3 separate regions of the Homo sapiens genome follow, and all the other regions are linked to region 1. Evidence: promoter capture Hi-C in 16 types of primary human blood cells and fetal thymus (Javierre and others, 2016). All regions are on one chromosome and are shown on one strand. Each heading gives the region's core, a stretch centred on a gene start or on the middle of the fragment in contact. The rest is flanking DNA. Distances are from core to core; before and after follow the strand shown. Region 1 holds the start of SLC2A10 (solute carrier family 2 member 10). Region 2 overlaps SLC13A3 (solute carrier family 13 member 3). Region 3 overlaps ZNF334 (zinc finger protein 334).

Region 1 (4,604 bases), core at 1,883-4,382:
CCTCAAATCAGTCTTTCTGAAAACTTCAGAAACCAGGGTTTTTATAAATACTTTGGTGAGCAGGGGGATAGGGAATGGGTGCTGCTGATTGGTTGGGGGGGTGAAATCATCGAGATATGGAAAACAGCCCCGTGCACTGAGTCTGCCTCTAGATGGGAGCCACAGGACCAGTCCACTCATGAATCTTTAGTCCAGGCGGGGTCAGTTGGTTGCCAGGATGTGAAAGTATGAAAAACATCTCAAAAGATGAATCTTAGGTTCTACAATAGTGATGTTATCTACAGGAGCAATTGGGGAAATTACAAATCTTGTGACCTCTGGCCACATGACTCCTGAGCAGTAAGGAATTACCAAAACTACACCTGCATTTTAGCATAATTCAGGCCCATCCCATAATCCTAACCTCATGGACTTTCATTAATTTTACAAAGGTAGCTTCAGTCCCTGAGCAAGGAGGGGGTTAGTTTTAGGGAGTGATTATTATCATCCTTGCTTCAAAGTTAAAATATAAACTAAACTCCTCTCGTGGTTGGCTTGGCCTATACCCAGAAATAAGCAAAGACAGGTAGCCGGTGAGGTCAGAGTCAAGATGGAGTCAACCATGCCAGATTTCTCTTGCTCTCTAATCTTTGCAAAGGCATTTTCAGTCCCTTAAGATCACATTAAATTAAAGTTAGATACCATCCTCACCGATTTCTCAGCTTCTGATGGTTAACTGTTCAAGGGTCAGAGGAGAGATTCAAGGCCAAGGGTGATAAGCCTCCTAGTGTCCATGTAGATATAACCTAATCTCTACTTTCTCCTGGAGATGATCCATCTCCTTTTTCTAATCAAGATAATGAACAATAATGAAATGTGTATTCGTTATTTATCACTGTATAACAAATTATTCCCCAAATTTAGTGGCTTAAAGAAACAAACATTTATTATCTCATGTCTTCTAGGATAAAGAATTTAGCATAGCTAAATTCTAGCTCTGAGCAAGAGCTCAGAATCTTGCAAGGTTGAAATCAAGGTGTCAGCCAGGACTAGAGTCACCTCCAGGCTAGGCTGAGGGAAGATTCACGTCCAAGCTCACCACAAGCTTGTTGGCCAGATTTAGCTCCTTAGGGGCTGTTGATTTAAGGGCTTTAGTCCCTCACTGGTTATTGCCTGGAGGCATTAGCTATGTGATTCAATAGCTTCGCTCCATGTGGGCCTCTCCATTGGGAAGCTCAAAACATGGCAGCTCAATTGCTTCATCAGAGCAAACAAGTGAGAGATCTCGAAACTGAACAACACAGAAATCATTTATAACCTAATCCGAAAATGACATCCACCATATTTGCCGTCTTCTATTCATTAGACGTTGCTAAGTGATACTTCTAGTGACATCTAGAAGAGAAGAGGATGCCACTAGGCCACGAATACCAGGAGGGTCTCAGTGTAATCAGACTTTTTATATGAAGGCTCAGGGATCCAGGCACCAGTATTCCAGTGACCCAGCCTCAGAAGTTACACAGTGTCACTCTGCAGGCTACTGATCAAACCAGTCACAAGCCCACTTTTATTTCAAGGGAAGGAACAACGAATTCTGGAGCCATGTTTTCAAACTGCCCCAGCTATTATTATTTTTGAAACTGTGCAAGGATCCCCTGGTTCAGAGGTCTTATGGATGCTGTCATCTTTGCTGAGATACCTGCTTGTGCCTTCAGCATGGAAGAATGCCTGTGTATCCACCTGTACGGTAGGGGTCGCTGTGACTTTGACTGGTGAGGGTACAGCCACTGGTGCACATGCAAAGGTGCCTATCTGTGAACACGTATTGAGAGGCTGGATAAGGCTGCGCCCATGTGAGTGCTGGGCTTGTACGTGCATTTTTGCCTGAGTGAGCATTAGTGGCAGTGTCCCCAGCCTACCCCTTTCCTGAATCCCAGGCTCATAGCCAACTGCCCACCTATTTCCACGTGGATGCCTGCTGAGCACCTCAAATGTCACACAGCCAAGACAGAACTCTGGATCTCCTTTCCCAGCCACAAGCTGCCCCTCTTCCAGTCTGTAAGTTCTTACGGAGCATATATATGTGATCTGCCTACTTTTCTCCAACCTCACCACAGTGACATGAGCCCAAACCAACTTCTCACCTTGCAACAGCCTCCCAGGTGGGAAGGCTGAGTATTCTGGCCCTTAACCAGTTAGAACTCCCCAGTTATCTGTCCTGCTGATGGGGTTGAAATCTACATTCCTGACCCTGGCCCACCAAAGCCCCTCCCTTAGCTCCCATCTCCCTCCTCTCTCCCTGTCTTCTCCTCTGCTCCAGACACTCTGGCTTCATTTCTGCGTTTTTTGTACCCCATAAGCTCCTTCCCACCCCGGGGCCTTTGCCTTTGCTGTTCCCCCTGCGGGGAATGCCGGATCTCTGCTCAGATATCCTCTTCTCAGATCAGCAAGCTAAAGCAGCCACCTGTGTCTGCCTAACCCACCACCGTAGTTTAACTTTCTGCCTAGTCTTTATCACTAGCTGATATTTCTCAGGATCCTTTAGTTACTTCTTTTTCGTCTTCCCCTCCTAGAATGTAAACTCTTCCCCTCCTAGAAGGTAAACAAAAGACCTGTTCTGTTTTGTTCTTCGGCCCATCCCAAGCCTAGCGTAGTGCCTGGTATGTGGTGGTGTCCAAACCCAAGCGTGGAGTGAATGAGGGATGAATCCATGAGAGAGTGAGCGGCTCCAGTGGGTATGCGCGAGTGTCTCACTCGGTGTAGATGTGTGTGTTGTGTGTGTTGTGTGTGTGCGCACGCTGGGGAGGCCAGACAAGTGTGGACCAGTGATTGGGGCACCTCTTCCCTGCAAAGAGGCCAGGGGAAGACAGTGCGTGTGGGGTCTTCTACCAGGGAGGATGGCTTGCTGGTGTGTCCCCCCCAGGGGAGGACTACCAACGAAGGGGACCCGGGAGATGGCGGGTGGGGGCCCCCGGGAGGACAGTGGGCGAGGGAGGGGGTCCTTGCCAGGCCTGGGGCGGCCGGGGGCGGTCCTGGGCTCCCCTCCGTCCCGCCTCCAGGCCTCGGGGCCTGGCTGGCCGACGTGGCGTTGGCGGCGCTGCGCGCGGGAGGGCAGGGCAGGAGGGACAGAGGCGGGGGCGGGCCGGAAAGTTTGTCCGGCGGCAGCGGCGTTGGGGACTCCGGCGGGGGATGCGCGCCCGGCCCCTCAGCGCCCCCAGCACGCCGCCGAGTCCCGCTCGCCATGGGTAAGTCCCGATCGGGCGCTGCCTGCTGGAAGCCCGACCCCTTCCCAGGGTGTAGACACCGCCCCCACGCTCCCCTAAGAGTGCGCGCCCCCTGGCTCCCCCAGGGCCGCCCCGGCCGGATACCGCCTCTCGGGTGGCCAGCCCGAGACTGCAGGCCTGCGGCGGGGGCTGGGACGGGGCTCGGTCGCGCTTCCTTCCATCTTCCTTTCTGCCCCGGAAAAGTGGCCCCTCACTTGCTGCAGCGCCCACTCGGGCCCAGGCACTCTCCCGGGCGCCCTGATCCGACAGCCCCAGGCAAGTGCAGCTGTTCCTGGTCTGCAGATGAAGAAATGGAGGCTCCGAAAGAAGCAAAGCAGTTCATCGATTCGCTGAGCGCGGTTGTGCCCCAGGCGCTGTTGTGGGCCTGGGGACGCTGTCGCGAACGAAACTGCGAACAAAACAGACGAACCCCCTCCTCTGGACGTGATTCTGCAGAGAGGGGACAGAGAAGGAGATTCTAACACAGCATTGGGGTGGGACGCGTGGGGAATGGCTTTGTTGCCACTCGGGACTAGGGCTCTATTTTTCTCTCTGCATTCAGAAGCCTCGAAGGATCAGTCGTTGATTCTTGAGTGAGCACCTACTACGTGCCAGACATTGATATAGGGGTTAGAGCTTCAGCAATGAACAAAATAGACAATAAACCTCTCTCTCATGGAGGTGGCATTCTGATTGAGCAGCTGGGTAAACACGTTTATGAATAACTTCAGAGAGAGATAAGGTGTTGTGGAACCCATAAAATGGGGTGGCGTGAAGGCCAAGGGCGTGGGTTCCTTGGGTAGGTGGTCAGGGTGGGTTTTCTGGAGTAGGACGTTTTGGAGCTGAGAACTTCCTCAGAAGCGGGTCTTGCTGAGATCTGGAGAAAGAGCTTCCAGGTGGCAGCAACAGTGCAAAGGCCCTCAGGCAGGAATGAGTTTGTGTGGCCCAGGCCAGGATGGCCAGAGCACAGCGGGCAGGGCACTGAGGTCAAAGGGATGGCAGAGAGGTGTGCAGGGCTTTGTAAGCCGTGGTGAGAAGTTCAGATTTTATTGCAAATGCCACGGCAAGCTGGAGAAGGGTTTTAAGCTGGAGCGGGGCCGTGACCTGAATTATCTTTTCTTTTTTTTTTCTTTTTTTTGAGATGATCACTCTGTCGCCAGGCTGGAGTGCAGTGGCGTGATCCCGCTCACTGCAACCTCCAGCTCCCTGGTTCAAGCAATTCTCCTGCCTCAGCCTCCCAAGTAGCTGGGATTACAGGCATACACCACCACGCCCAGCTAATTTTTGTATTTTTAGTAGAGAGTGGGTTTCACCATGTTGGCCAGGATGTCTTGATCTCCTGACCTCGTGATCCGGCTGCCT
Region 2 (4,478 bases), core at 1,615-4,114, 140 kb before region 1:
AAATACAAAAATTAGCCAGGCGTGGTGGTGCACGCCTGTAATCCTAGCTACCCAGGAGGCTGAGGCAGGATAATCACTTAAACCAGGGAAGCGGAGGTTGCAGTGAGCTGAGATCACGCCACCGCACTCCAGTCTGGGTGACAGAGAGAGCGAGACTCCATCTCAAAAAAAAAAAAAAAAAAAAAAAAAATAGAATAGAGCATACAGTTTTTACATAAATAAAATAGTACACTTGCCCCTACAATTTGACTTAAAAGTTACCTTCAATGTAAGAATAATAAATGCTTAAAAATATTTGTCCCCAGAAGAGTCCTCATGAAACTAAGGTGTTTCTGGTACACCTGCAGTTTGTCTGCTAGCCTGGGGAATACGGTAAGTGGCAGCGTGGAGGCCACAGCCCCTAACCTGGCTGCAAGGAGTGCTGCAGGGAGAAAATGGGACCTCTGGTTTTTCCCATAGGCCACAGCTCTGGCAAAGAGTCTGACCTGACAGCTCTGTGCGCAATTAAAGGGAGAGGGGCTAGAGAGAGGGAATATTAATGACTCGGGCAAGTGAGAAGCCAGGAGCTGCCCCGTAGCTGGGCCTCTGAGTGACCGGGCTTCCAGCCAGCATCCTCGCAGCCACACAGGCCTTGGCACAGCTCCAGCGCTGGAGGGAGGTCTGGCAGCTTCCTAAGAGAGGAAAACGCCTGTTGCGTAGGGTTCTACTGGGGACTCTAAAGGGACTTCACCTGCCCTTTCCCATTTTATTTTATTTATTTTTTTGAGACAGAGCCTCACATTGTCACCCAGGCTGGAGTGCAGTGACACAATTATAGCTCACTGCAGCCTCTATCTCCTGGGTTCAAGCAAGCCTCCCACCTCAGTGTCCTGAGTAGCTAAGGCTACAGGCACACAACACCATGTTTGGCTAAATTTTTTTAAGTGTTTTTTTTTGTAGAGACAGGGTCTTACTATGTTGCCCAGGCTGGTTTGAACCTCTGGGCTTAAGCGATCCTCCTGCCTAGGCCTCCCAAAGTGCTGGGATTACAGACATGAGCCACCATGCCCCAGACTCTTTCCCATATTCTTAGGAATTGGAAGCTTTGTTTCCTTGGAAACACACAGCCCCACAGTATTCCCAGGGACTCCAGGGACCAGCAACAGCCAAGGTCAGAGGTGGCATGGCCAGAAGGTGAAGAGAAGGGGCTCTGGAGTCAGACTGAGTTTGCTTCCCAGCTTAATCTTTTCTAGCTGTCACTTAACTTCCTAGGCAAGTCACTTAACCTCTCTGTGCTAAAATTTCCTTATCTGTAAACGAGGGATAATGATAGTGCCTGTCCCAGAAGGTTATTGTTGGGAGAAAAGGAGTGAATCTATAAAGGGCCTAGGAAAGTGGCTGGGCGCTTGGTTAGCGCCTGCCATAACCAGTAGCATGAAGTCACAAGATGCCTGAAGTGATGGAACTCAGAAATCACCCAGCACAGTGGTTGTCAAATTATGTTCCTTAGTGGCCTTGAAGATGACCAGAAGTACCCAAGGCCACCTTGCAAAAATGGGAGGTGGGGAGATGGAGTTGGTACAGTGATGTTTCCCTCTTCCTCCTGTTTTCTTACTTCAACCAGGTCCTCTCTTCTTGGTGTCTTTGATATACAGTAGAGGAGCATCTTATAAGGGGGTTTGTTATGGCATAAGTTCAATATTTGAAGTCAAAAACTCCTGTGGCCAAAATACCCTTGAAAATCTTTTAAAAGGCTTTGTAAAACACAACGGGCTCGGCTGTGTGCATACAACTTTGTATAATAATTCCTAGGTAAAGAGACCAGCGAATTTGATTAAAGGAAGGAAAAAAGACAAGGCTTTATGTACATGTATAAACATTCAAACCACTGCACCATTTACAAGCTGTGTGACTTTGGGCAAATTAATTAACATCTCTGTTCCTTGATTTCTTTAAGCGATTGCAGTAAGGATTAAATAAGTGCACACGAAACACTCTCTGTACTTAGTAAGCACTGAATATGATCTATCATTTAATTTAACAAAGCAACATAGTGCTTACTCTGTGCTGGGCACTCTTCTAAGTAATTTGTAAATATTACTTAATCTTCATAGCAACCTCATGGAATACAGACTACAGATGCTCCTTGACTTACAGTGGAGTTATGTCTCAATAAGCCCATCACGAATTGAGAATATTGAAGTAGAAAATGCATGTAATACACCTAACCTACCTGTTCACATCATAACTTAGCCCAGCCTACCTTAAATGCGCTCAGGACACTGACATTAGCCTACATTTGGGCAAAATCATCTGGCAATGCTATACACTGTAGAATATCTGTTGTTTACCCTTATAATTGCTCAGCATCTACAAGAGAGTGTCCCACCACATATCACAGCCTGGGAAAAGATCAAAATTCAAGATTCTAAGTACCCTTTCTATTGAATGCATATCACTCTTTCACCATTGCAAAGTTGAAAAATCGTATGTCGAATCGTTGTGAAGTCAGGAACCATCTGTACAATTATCTCCATTTTATGGTTGAAGAAACTGAAGCATAAAAAAGCTCAGTGATTTGCCCAAATAAATAATATGACGTGCCCTAGTAAGATTCAGAATCTGGATCTTAGTCATGTCATTAGGCTTGTCTGTCCGATAAAATGAGGGTAATAATAATTGTATTAGTCCATTCTCGCTCTGCTAATAAAAACATACCCGGGTGTGGGTAATTTATAAAGGAAAGAGGCTTAATTGACTCACAATTCAGCATGGCTGGGGAGGCCTTAGGAAACTTACAATCATGGTGGAAGTGGAAGCAAACACGTCCTTCTTCACATGGTGGCAGCAAGAAGTGCCGAGCAGAAGGGGGAAAAGCCCCTTACAAAAAATCATCAGATCTCTTGAGAACTCACTCATTGTCACAAGAACAGCATAAGGGTAACCGCCCCCACGATTAAATTACTTCCCACCAGGTCCCATGACATGTGGGGATAATGGGAACTACACAATTCAGGATGAGATTTGGGTGGGGACACAGCCAAACTATGTCAATAATAAAGATGACAGACTTCTGGCAGAAAATGAGGAATGGGGAGAATACACATTTTCTCCTTACCTCTATCACCGCAACATATTTGTAAGTAAGTTTGTTGTGGCAACAGAATAAGATCAACCTTTCCTCAATGAATTAATGCAATAATAACAGTAATAATAATAGTGAAGATGAGTGTGGCTCCTGGTTTGAGCACCCAGGGTATATCACCACTCTTCTGGGTACTTTCCATACATTATGTTAGCAATTCTCAAAGCAGCCCATCTTGTAGGTCATAGCAACAATGATGTGTTAAGCACCATTACGCACCCGGTGTCTTCTAGGTGCCTAGAACAGTGGTGGGTAAGACAGACATGGTCTCTGCCTGCCCTCATGGAGCTTCCATTCTAGTAAGAGACACAATCAATAAACATGCCCACAGGATCATTTGGGGGGTAGATGTGGTATATAGGAATAGGCAGGGTCATGAGAGGAAGAGGGACTGGGGTGGGAGGCTATTCTAGATGTGGGGGCTTGGGAGGGCATTTCTGAGGGACTGAGACCTGAAGAGTGAGGACTCAGAGCTCTCAGGATGAAAATTCAACAGAGAAAGGGAAGATGCAAAGGCTGTGGGGTGCATGTGAGTCTGATGTGGCTGAGGAAGGGGCCAAGGAGACTGGAGGGGTGTTAGGAGGGAAGAGAGGTAGGTGCCAATGTTGAGACCTACATTGTCCCATACAGCTTTCTGTGTTGGCCAAGGGAAACCTTGGACTTGACTTTAAGTCTATGCAGAGTCATGACTATACGGTTTTGTGGCAGGAGAAAACTGTAGTGAGGACCCTAAGTGGGCTTAAGTGAGTTGCTGAGGCTCAGAGTAAGCACTACTTCCTGCCCTTCAGAATGAGCGCTGGGAGCCCACACACCCAGGCTCACCCTGGATTGCATCCAGGGACCTCCGATCCTCAGGAGGCTGCCAGGCTGTGTTCTGATGAGAGTGTGGGGCAGGGGCCAGGAACCAGGATGTGCCATAAGCATTCTGGTCGCTCCTGGGCCAGGCTGCGGCTGCCTGGGGAGAGGATGGTACGGCAGAGGCTGGGGAAAGGAACAGCTACTACACAAAGCCCCTGTTGAAGAGAAACTCCGGCCAGCTGCCCAGGGCTGGGCTCAGAGCCAGGGTGGCCTCTCAGCATGCCCAGCGTCCCGCAGCCCAGCCTCCACTGAGAGCCAGTGCTCCCCACACCACTTCTGGAGCTTAGGGAAACCTCTGGATCAGGGTCATCTCATCCAGCCTCCTTCCTCTAGGCCAGGCTGGGCTCAGATCACTGAGGTAAATGGCACCATTTCCACCAAGTTGCTCAAGCCACGAACCTCCACATGATTCTTGATTTTGATTTTCCTTTTCCTCAGTATCTAACCATAATAACCAACTGTGCTGGGCTGTGTTCTCATTTCTCTGCATATATTG
Region 3 (4,678 bases), core at 1-2,500, 200 kb before region 1:
TGAACTGATATGAAGTGAAAAAAGCAAAGTATTAAAGAATATCTATAATATATTACCTTTTATGTAAGAAAGGAGATGTAAGAAAACACACATGGCCAGGTGTGGTGGCGCACACCTATAATCCCAGCACTCTGAGAGGTTGAGGTAGGCTGATCGCTGGAGCTCAGAAGCTCAAGATCAGTCTGGGCAACACGGCAAAACCCCATCTCTACAAAAAAATAAAAAAAAATTAGCCAGGCATGGTGGCATGTGCTACTCGGGTGGCTGAGGCAAGAGGATCACTTGAGTCTGGGAGTCAGAGGTTGCAGTGAGCTCAGATTGTGCCACTGTACTCCAGCAGCCTGGGTGACAGTGCAAGACCTCATCTCAAAAAAACAAAAAAACCCACATGTAACCACTACATGTGAAAAAAAATTATGGAAAGGATACACCAGAAACTCATGAAACTGGTTACATTCAGGGGAGAGGTGGAGACAGACGGAAAGAATGGACGGATGGGAACAGAGTAGAAGAGATGAGAAGGAGTGACACTTCTCTAAAATATCTTTCTATACGGTTTTGATTCTTAGAACTATGGTAGGCCAGGCGTGGTGCCTCATGCCTGTAATCACAGCACTTCGGGAGGCTGAGGTGGGAGGATCGCTTGAACTCAGGAGTTCAAGACCAGCCTAGGCAACATAGTGAGACCCCATCTCTCAAAAAAATTTTTTTTTTTTTGCCAGGAGTGGTGGCACATGCCTGTAGTCCCAGCTACTTGGAAGGCTAAGGCAGGAGGATTGCTTGAGCTGAGGAGGTCAAGACTTTAGTGAGCTATGATTGCACCACTGCACTCCAGCCTGGGTAACAGAGCAAAACCCAGTTTCAAAAATTAAGTAAGTTAAATAAGCTTAAGTAAGTAAAAAGGAAAGAAAGAAAAGAAAGAGGAAAGGAAAAGAAAGGAGAAATGAAGGGAGGGAGGAAAGACAAGGAAAAGAAAACAAAGGAAAAACAAGGGAAAGGGAAGGGGAAGGGGAAAGGAAATAAAGAAAAGGCTAGGATGAACCCTGCAAAATAACTAGCCAGCAAAGTGTCAAGGTTGTAAGTGACAAAGAAGGACCATCGTGGGTTGCAAGAGGCTAAGGAGACAGGACATTTAACACAACCTGGGTTCCTAGGTTGGATCCTTGAACTGAAAAAGGATATTATGGAAAATAATAAGCAGAATTTGAATACGATAGATAATAATACTGTATTCATGTGAATTTCCTGGTTCTGATCACTATAATATAGTTTTGAAAGATCAGGGGAAGCGAGGTGAAGGAAACACAGGTATTTTGTGTATGATTTTTCTCATTCTTCGTATTTAAAAATAAAGCAGTAAAAAATAGGCATGCTGCCTCCACCTCTGCAGACACCTGGGCTTTGGCCTGCTGTATGTCTCACCTCACCCACATGACCATCCTAGGTCACCCGTCTTTCTTTTCTTTGATCTGCTATACATCTTTCTACTGACAAATTTTATTAGGTAATTTAATGAGGCCTTTCCCGCTATCACCACTTAACTGTCTCTTAAACCAGAAGTAGTTACATTATCCATTTTATTTCTTCCATGAATTACTTCCTCTGAAGGACCTATAAGCTTCCTGAAGATAAAGAGTATCTCATAATTATAGGCACAACAATAGACATATAAGGTCTTAATGACTAGAAAGAATGACTGGCAAAAATATTAGAAACAAAACGCCAGGGAGAAAGAGTGCCAGGGAAGAGCCCTCACTAGAAAGTTCTGTACTTGCTCAGGCAGACCCAGTGCACTTCATAGCAGAAAGTCCAAAGTAAGAACAGTGAAATGTGTTCACTTTGTGAGAAACTGAAAGGTGCTTATGACAAAAGAAAAAGAAACTCGATTCTCCCGGTGACTCAGGTCCATTCTGCAAGCAATACTGTAAGTAGAATGATGATCCATTCAGAGCAGAGGAGAGTTCACCATTTCACACAAAACAAGATTACCCAAAAAAAGAAATGATGAGTACTACTATGAGCAGGGATATGGCTACTGAGGACATGTGCCTACACCTTTAAAGGCTAATAGTCTTACTTGTGAGGTAGACAGATAATGACCAGACCCTACATGTAATGCAAAGAAGAGGGCCAGCATTGCTCTGTAAACACATAGTCTGTGGACAAAGAATATGAGGACAGGAATGGGTCCTGTGACGAGATGGCTCCTGGCTATGTTCACAATGTAGGCAGAAAAGGGGTAGAAAGTCAAGGAGCAAACAGTAGAAACACGGTTAAAAGCAAGAGTGTAAAATTTGGGGCATGTTCAGGAGACTAAATGCAGACCACCATCGTTCTTCAGAGGGGCTCAATGTGGGTGGTCCCTTCCATCAGGGGCATGTGGCACATCTGCGGAGACATTTTTGCCTGTCAGGGTTCTGTGGGATGCTGTTGGCATTTGGTGGAAGGAGAGGGAAGGAAGGATGGTAGAGACACTGCAACATGCAGGACCTTCTCCTACAGGAAAGAAATGTCCCAAGTCCTGTATAACTTTCTAATCTTAAATATTCATATAAACGAAAAATCCTGTTTATAATGATCTGAGCCTAGAACCTTATTCCATTTGGCACTTGAACACATAGTATTTTTATATATTTTTTATGTATATTAAATTTTCTTCAATGTAATAGTGGATACATCAAGCACAATTTGTATTTGATTTGAACTGGAACTTCAGGGATTTTCACTCTTGAAAAATATCACAAATGGCAATGCTATGTACAGTATTTGAATCATGACACATCAGTCCCATATCAGTGAGAACTTGTAATTATCACGTTCATAGAAATTTAACCTAAAAGTAATCTGTATAAACACCAGACTCCTCTTCTTTTACTATAGTTTTATCTGGGCAAGTCTATATTAAGATACATATCATTTTTAATTACTTTTTTATTTTTCCTCTATATTCGAGTTCTATTGATTTTTTTAAAAATTACACAAGTAAGTTGTATTATCTATGATCTCCAAAATAGGATAAAGGGAGGATGGCTTTTAGTTGGGATTTCTAGAAAACAGATCCTAAGGCAAGGACTTGGTCTGCATCATTCCATCTGGGAACTCCAAGCCGGGGTAGTGAGGGTGAGGGAAGTAAGGAAGGGAGGAAAGAAAGGATGTAAACAATGAGATATGAGAGGCATTAGCATGCTGCCCACCAACTCACTACAAGCCCCAAAGAGGGGCAAGTTTCCTCAGCAGGAGCATGGGGTCAGCACGTGGGTCAGCACATGGGACATCTCTGGGAGGACCACCAGGAGAAACTAACCTTGAAATAGTGCACAGAATAGAGAAAGGATGGGGAATTCATCTGCCCACCTCCTTCTCATTTTCCATTTCCCTTCATTCAAGGTTCACCCACGGTGAGTTAACTTGCGCACACTTCCAGGTTGCATCATCTGGCTCCACCATCTGGCCCCTCAGGAAGCTGGTACCACACCTCATGGTGTGTGGTTTCATCCAAGTCTAAAACAGGAGGCAGCCTGGTGTGGGTGGGTGGCATTAACTAAGAGAGATAAAGGGGATGGCAGAATATGGAAGGTTTGCATCCCAATATAGCTCCTAAGAAAGTATGTTCTGTAAAAAGATATGGGTCTGGCAGAGTTGAGAACCACCTCAGCACAGTTTGAATTGCTTGTGTAATATCTTTCTCTTTCACTAGCACATGAGCTCCATGAGGACAGAGACAGTATCTCCTTCATTCAAGCTGAATGTAGACCATCTAGCATAGCGTATCACACACAATTGTTTGATCAATATACAGTTGTTGAATGAAAGGTCCAGAGTGGTAGGAACTGAGAAGAGGCAGGAAACGGTCATGACATACATAGCCTTACAGGTCATACCAAGGATGCTGAACTTGTATTCTGCAAGTGGCGTGGAACCTCTTAAGTCATTTCTGTATTAAGACATGATCACGTTGGCATTTTGGAGGAATTGGTCAGTGTGAAGAACAGCCTTGAGGTGGGAAGAGGAAGGGGCCAAGCAGACTGCTGAGAAAGCTACTAATATTATGACAACCCACGAGAAACTGAGGCAGGAGAGGAGGAGATGGAAGTGAAAGGACAAATTCAAGAAATGTTTATGTGACAACATTAGCAAGCTCGACAAACAGGTATGGTAGGACGTGAGGAAAAGGAGAATTAAGATGGACTTCAGGCCGGGCGCGATGGCTCACGCCTGTAATCCCAGCACTTAGTGAGGCCGAGGCAGGAGGATCACGAGGTCAGGAGATTGAGACCATCCTGGCTAACATGGCGAAACCCCGTCTCTACTAAAAAATACAAAAAATTAGCCAGGCGTGGTGGCGGGTGCCTGTAGTCCCAGCTACTCGGGAGGCTGAGGCAGGAGAATGGTGTGAACCTGGGAGGCTGAGGCAGGAGAATGGTGTGAACCCGGGAGGCAGAGTTTGCAGTGAGCTGAGATCGTGCCACTGCACTCCAGCCTGGGTGATAGAGTGAGAGCCCATTTCAAAAAAAAAAAAAAAAAAAGATGGCCTTCATTTTCTGGCTTGTCTCGCTGGTCAGATGGAAGCAGCACTGATAGGGAAAAAAGAAGCAGCAGCACATTGAGCAAGTTGTAAGTATTATTTCCATGTTGGATATGAGGACTCCATGTGCCTTCTGGACATCCTTACAGAGAT

The links. Contacts are between HindIII fragments. The CHiCAGO score rates a contact against its expected background, and 5 or more counts as called.
Region 2: a fragment that was not itself captured here is called in contact with the fragment with the promoter of SLC2A10 in region 1 in 1 of 17 cell types (megakaryocytes); the score reaches 5.2 in megakaryocytes.
Region 3: a contact is called between a fragment that was not itself captured here and the fragment with the promoter of SLC2A10 in region 1, in 1 of 17 cell types (megakaryocytes). The highest score is 6.1, in megakaryocytes.

The regions. Positions count from the first base shown.
Region 1 is chr20:46,706,517-46,711,120 of GRCh38, forward strand. It overlaps SLC2A10 (solute carrier family 2 member 10), which reads left to right and starts at 3,133. Exons shown (of 5, transcript NM_030777.4): 1 at 3,133-3,224. The coding sequence starts at 3,221. The HindIII fragment of the contact is 5,872 bases long and covers 1,083-4,604 here.
Region 2 is chr20:46,568,238-46,572,715 of GRCh38, forward strand. The region is part of intron 10 of SLC13A3 (solute carrier family 13 member 3); the gene reads right to left. Among named protein-coding and RNA genes, the nearest start is that of OCSTAMP, 20 kb to the left of the region's middle. RefSeq lists an enhancer at 135-636. The HindIII fragment of the contact is 3,568 bases long and covers 1,081-4,478 here.
Region 3 is chr20:46,506,251-46,510,928 of GRCh38, forward strand. All of the region lies in intron 2 of ZNF334 (zinc finger protein 334), which reads right to left. Among named protein-coding and RNA genes, the nearest start is that of ZNF334, 5.0 kb to the right of the region's middle. The HindIII fragment of the contact is 732 bases long and covers 885-1,616 here.